Regions from separate parts of the Homo sapiens genome. Here region 2 is linked to region 1. The links are contacts of gene promoters, found by promoter capture Hi-C in blood cells and fetal thymus (Javierre and others, 2016). All regions are on one chromosome and are shown on one strand. Each heading gives the region's core, a stretch centred on a gene start or on the middle of the fragment in contact. The rest is flanking DNA. Distances are from core to core; before and after follow the strand shown.

Region 1 (2,700 bases), core at 174-2,673:
CTTTAAAGAGATAAGTGGGTGCACAACTTTTTTTTTGCCTGAAACATATCATCTAAAAGTTAAGCAAATGAAATTCATTTACCAGTTACAGGAATCTTTTTCTTAAATCACTGTTAATGTCTCACAGGAAATTAGCTCTTCAGTGGAAATCAGCAGCCTCCCTGCATCCTTTTGCCCCTGTCCTCCCCTCTCTTGGATGCAAACCTGGCGAAAAGAAGGGAACACTGCTTGGGGTCAGCGAGCTGAGTTCCAGCTCCGAATGTACCATTTTCACCCTCGGGAGTCTTCTCCCCTTTCTCTGTGAGCAAAGGAGTGTTGGGCCAGACCGTCTTAAGGATTCTTCCCCAGGTACAAGCCGGACTCTGGCGGCTTTCCTGGGCAAGGGAGTGTCTCCGCCTTGTCTCTGCCGCAGGTCCCTGGTTAAATTGTCAATTTCTCTGCGGAGGCTGCTCACTGCATCCGCTCCCTCCACCCCTAGCCCTGTAGACCCCTTCTCTTTCCCCTACTTGGGAAAAGTGAAGCCCCTTATCCTTGGATAGCCTTTCACCAGACAACCGCAGCCGTCCGCTAAATTCCCCTACTGGCGGGACGCGCGGGCGGGGGCCTGCCCCGGGGAATGCGAGGCTGCTTCCCTTCTGCGTAATCAGGGTACGCAGCCTCCAGTTCTCTAACTTTCTCCTTCTCTAAGAGGGAATTTCGAGAACTTTAAGACAAATAAGTGACTATATAGATGAAGACATGAAACCTCTCTACACAGTGAACTCCCCCACGCTACAAGGCTCCCAGGGATCCCAGGCCTTCTCCCGCAATGCCCCGCCGGGTCCCCCGCCCCAACTCCTTCTCACGGCAGGATCCCGCGCCAGGACGCTCGCAGAGCCCGAGATGTGGCACCAGGCGCGCCACAAGTCCAGGTCCCGCTATTTCTGCTCCATCGGAGCCCAGGTCGGAGGGAGTCAGCGCGTCCTCCTCGCACAGGAGCCTGGCGCGCGGCTCGGTCGCACAGAGGCTGAAGAAAGGTCCGCACTGGGCTCGAGGCCCTTCCTGCCGGCCTCCCCACGCCGGGCCTAGGCTCCCCTCCTTCCCGGCTCCCGCCTCCTCCCGTAGGCTGCCAGGCGGACCCAGCCTGCCTCTCTCTCTGCCTTCACTACCGGGTCAAGCTGCGGAGGGAGGGAGGGAGGCAGCGGCGAAGCCCTCCGTGGCTCCCCACCCGGCGCGCGCGCCCCTCCTCCCCTGCCTCCTCCCGTCTGCCAGTACAGTAGAACTAGTACACACACACACACACACACACACGCACACGCACCCTGCCACTGCAGCTGCCATGGATATCAGCTAACAACACACACCCAGGCGCGCGCGCGCGTTCCCACTCGCACCACGCAGGAGTGGCCCCCGGCATCCCTACCCTCCTTCCCCACCCCCACCACACCCGCTCACCAGCTCGGCTACTGCTCGCTCCGGCTGCCGCCGCCGCCGCCGCCGACGCCACCACCACTGCTTCCTCTGCTGCGGGGCCACAGCCTTGAGTGTCATTCAAGGGACAGCACAACCTCATCCAAGCTCTCCTACCTCTGCCCAGCCGTCCCTCTCATCCTCCCCATTCCTCGTCCACACTCCATCCAAAGAAGAGGGAAAGCACCGAATAGAGGGGGGCGAAGGCAAAGTCTGCTGTTCTTCCCCCTGGGCCCCCTTGCTCCTCCATCCTCATTCTCTCACCACCAGCCCCCCTAACCCCAAGGAGCCCAGGAACTGAGGCGACTCGCCCCACTGCCATGTCCAAAAGCTTGAAAAAGAAAAGCCACTGGACTAGCAAAGTCCATGAGAGTGTCATTGGCAGGAACCCGGAGGGCCAGCTGGGCTTTGAACTGAAGGGGGGCGCCGAGAATGGACAGTTCCCCTACCTGGGGGAGGTGAAGCCCGGCAAGGTGGCCTATGAGAGCGGCAGCAAATTGGTGTCGGAGGAGCTGCTGCTGGAGGTGAACGAGACCCCCGTGGCGGGGCTCACCATCAGGGACGTGCTGGCCGTGATCAAACACTGCAAGGACCCCCTCCGGCTCAAGTGTGTCAAGCAAGGTGAGAGCAGCGGCTTGCTCAGTGTTTTGCCGGGCGGTGGGACCGCTCGGGGCGCAGGGCAATGAAAGGGTGGCCGCGCATGTTGAAGGGGGTGTGTTGCGCGATGATGGGGTGGGGGCCAGAGAGCACCCGCAGTGCAAGTGAGTTTCGCCGGGGATTCGACTTGGGGGCTAAAGGGAGGGGAGGGGCAGGTTGTGGTGTGGCGTGCAACTTTGTTTGCTCAGTTAGACCCTCCCCTTTGGAAGGTGCTCGGCCTGGTCTGACCTCCTCAGAGCTGCTGGGGCAAATTGAATGTGCGTCAGTGGCATCACCCGAAGCGGATGAAGAGCTTTTGGGGAAGGGAGGAAGGAAGAAAAGAAAGAAAGAATGGGAGGAAGGGAGGGAAAGAAGGAAGGAGCAACTTCAGGGTGCAGCGGCATCACCAGCGGGTCTGGGAAGAGAAGGTGGTGGGGTGAGCGGAGAACTGCGTCCAGCGTTTCTGGGGCTGGGCTGGGGGCGCCTGGGTCCCCAGCTGTCCCTTAGGGATCCGTGAGCCACCGCTGGCGAAGAAAAGAAGGGACAAATTGCTTTGGGCGCTTTGACGGGTCTTCTGTAACTTTTCCCCTTCTTCACTCCGTGTCCCCCTCCCCC
Region 2 (2,700 bases), core at 43-2,542, 560 kb before region 1:
CTGAGAAACTAATTTTGAAGGAATACCAAGTGAATATTTATGAAGATACTGTGGGATATTCCTTGGGAAAAATGCTCTTAAAGCATTATATTTACTAGCTACTTACGGATCCTTAGAATAGACTGGGATGAAAAGTTAGCACATCTTTGCTAGATATCCTGAATGCTAACAATATGTCAGTGAGTGTCAGGGCTGACATTGTAATATAAGCATTGAGATCTTCAGAGTTTCTTGGTTGGTTTCAATATTCTCTTTTCAATGGTCGTAGAAACTGTCATTCTGGCATATTCTGGGTAAGCCAAAAAAAGGCCCTTCCCAACAAATCTCCCATGCTGCTCTTCCAATTCCATCACCACTTTCCCTTATCAACAATTCAATGCTGCCCCCCAAATCAGTCTTAGTCTTAAATTAAACGTTGCTCATGAAGGTGTATTATTATCTTGAATCTATTTCTGAAAACAATTTGGTAAGGAAACGGGTTTTATATTGAAGTTAAACCCTGGGCAAAACTTATTATGGCCAGGCATGGTGGCTCACACCTGTTATTCCAGCACTTCGGGAGGCCAAGGTGGCAAATCACCTAAGGCCAAGAGTTTGAGACCAGCCTGGCCAACATGGCGAAACCCCATCTCTACTAAAAATACAAAACTTAGCTGAGGATGGTGGCGGGTGCTTGAAATCTCAGCTACTCAGGAGGCTGAGGCAGGGAGAATTGCTTGAACCCAGAAGGTAGAGGTTACAGTAAGCATAGGTCGCGCCAGTGCACTCCAGCCTGGGTGACAGAGCAAGACTCCGTCTCAAAAAAGAAAAAAAAGAGTTATTATATGTTTGATGATTAGAAATAGAAAAATTTTAAAGGTTCATAATATTCTTATACACATAAACACATACTACAAATGGTAGCCTTTATCAATAGGTTAGTTTAAATCATCAAATGAAAGAAAATACCAAAGAGATTAAAAATTACTTAGGAACACACAGAAAAGCTTATTAGTGATTTTAAATTCTCTTTTCCTGTGTTAAACACAGTAAATAAAAGAAAGACTTCAGAAGTATTTATGAGAACTGTAATGCTGAAATTTGATAGGGAAAAGGCAAAAAGATAAAGGGAATTGTAATATTGCTTTTCTAAGTTTAGAATGAGATTTATTTGCTTTGCTTAGAGAGCACAACCAATAACATGAATAGTTTTGAATTATCTTAAAGTCTCCTCACTATTTTAGCAGAACCTTATTCACCTGAGCTATCTCTTACTAAACGTAAATAACAACTAGTGCAGTGTAATAACTTTGCTTTTTGTTATGTGGTACTTTTGCCAGTAAAAAGTTTTTAACTACTGAAATTTGAAAGTAAATATGAAACAAACGAAATAGTATGAGTAAAGTACATTTTGGTAATGTTTATTTCCTTCTGGTTTTTCCCTAAAAACTCCAATGAGATAAAATATTTAAAAATATTTATAGCATGCTGTGATTTGGATATACTTTGTTCTCACTAAAACTCATGTTGAAATTTGATCCTCAATGTGAGAGCATTAGGAGGTGGTACCTAGTGGGAGGTCTTTGAGTCTTGTGGGCTGATCCCTTATAAAAGCTTTAGTTTCATTTTCCCTGGCAGTGAGTCAGTTCTTGCTCTCATAAGACTAGATGAGCTTCCGCAGAAATGGATTTGTTACTGCAAAAGTGAGTTGTTACAAAGCAGGATGCCCATTAGGTTTTGCCGCTTTGCACATGTCTGCTTCTCCTTTAGCTTTCTCCACCATGTTTTGATCAAGTGGATGGATCTCACCAGAAATCAAATTTTCAAAAATTAAGGAAAAATAGAGAATATTGAAACCTGCAAGGGAAAAGTGTATTGTTATGTACATGGAGAACTCTCCAAGAGACTATCAACATTTTTCAACAGAAACCTAGTAGGCCAGAAGGAATTCAATGATATGTTTCAAAAGCTGAAAGAAAAAGAAACCTGTTAACCAAGAACACTACACTCAGCAATCTTGCTCTTCAAAAGTGAAGAATAAACACTTCCTCAGACAAACAAAAGCTGAGGAAATTTATCACTGCTAGACCTGCCTTACAAAAAATGCTAAAAAGAGTTCTGGAAACTGAAGGAAAATGCCACTTAGTAGCAATACGAAAATATAAAACTCACTGGTAAAAGTAACCACATAATCAAACAAATAATTTGTTAAGAAACACAGACTTTAAAAGATACAAAAACAAATTGTATGTTGGGGGAAGTAAAGGTGTAGAGTTTGTGCAAATAAAAGTAAAGTTGTTATCAGCTTAAAATAGTCTGTTAATAGTGTAATATATTTTATGTGTTTCATGTAAGCACAAAGTAAAAACTCTTAGTAGGTACATAGAAGATAAAAAGAGAGGATTCAAGGCACACCACTATGGAAAATCATCAAACCAGAAAGAAAGACAGCAAAAGAAGAAGAGAAGAACAAATAATCTACAAATTAATTAGAAAACAGTTAACACAATGGAAACAATAAGTCTTTACCTAAATAATTCATCTGAATGTAAATTGATTAAATTTTGTAATCAAAAGACATCAAGTGGCTGAACTGATAAAAATAGAAAGACCCAACTATATGCTGCCTACAAGGAGCTCAGTTCACCTCTAAGGACACAAACTGAAATCGAAAGAATGGACAGATATTCTATACAAATGGAAAACAAAAGAAGCAAAAGT

Evidence for each region. The method cuts DNA at HindIII sites, captures the fragments that hold promoters and counts their contacts. A CHiCAGO score of 5 or more calls a contact.
Region 2: a fragment that was not itself captured here is called in contact with the fragment with the promoter of MAGI2 in region 1 in 1 of 17 cell types (megakaryocytes); the score reaches 6.8 in megakaryocytes.

The regions. Positions count from the first base shown.
Region 1 is chr7:79,452,390-79,455,089 of GRCh38, reverse strand. MAGI2 (membrane associated guanylate kinase, WW and PDZ domain containing 2) reads left to right here and starts at 1,423. Exons shown (of 22, transcript NM_012301.4): 1 at 1,423-2,070. The coding sequence starts at 1,770. It overlaps MAGI2-AS3 (MAGI2 antisense RNA 3), which reads right to left and starts at 2,133. Exons shown (of 4, transcript NR_038346.1): 1 at 1,899-2,133; 2 at 1,435-1,503. RefSeq lists an enhancer at 2,683-2,700. The HindIII fragment of the contact is 2,254 bases long and covers 1-1,782 here.
Region 2 is chr7:80,013,595-80,016,294 of GRCh38, reverse strand. No RefSeq gene overlaps it. Among named protein-coding and RNA genes, the nearest start is that of GNAI1, 120 kb to the left of the region's middle. The HindIII fragment of the contact is 607 bases long and covers 989-1,595 here.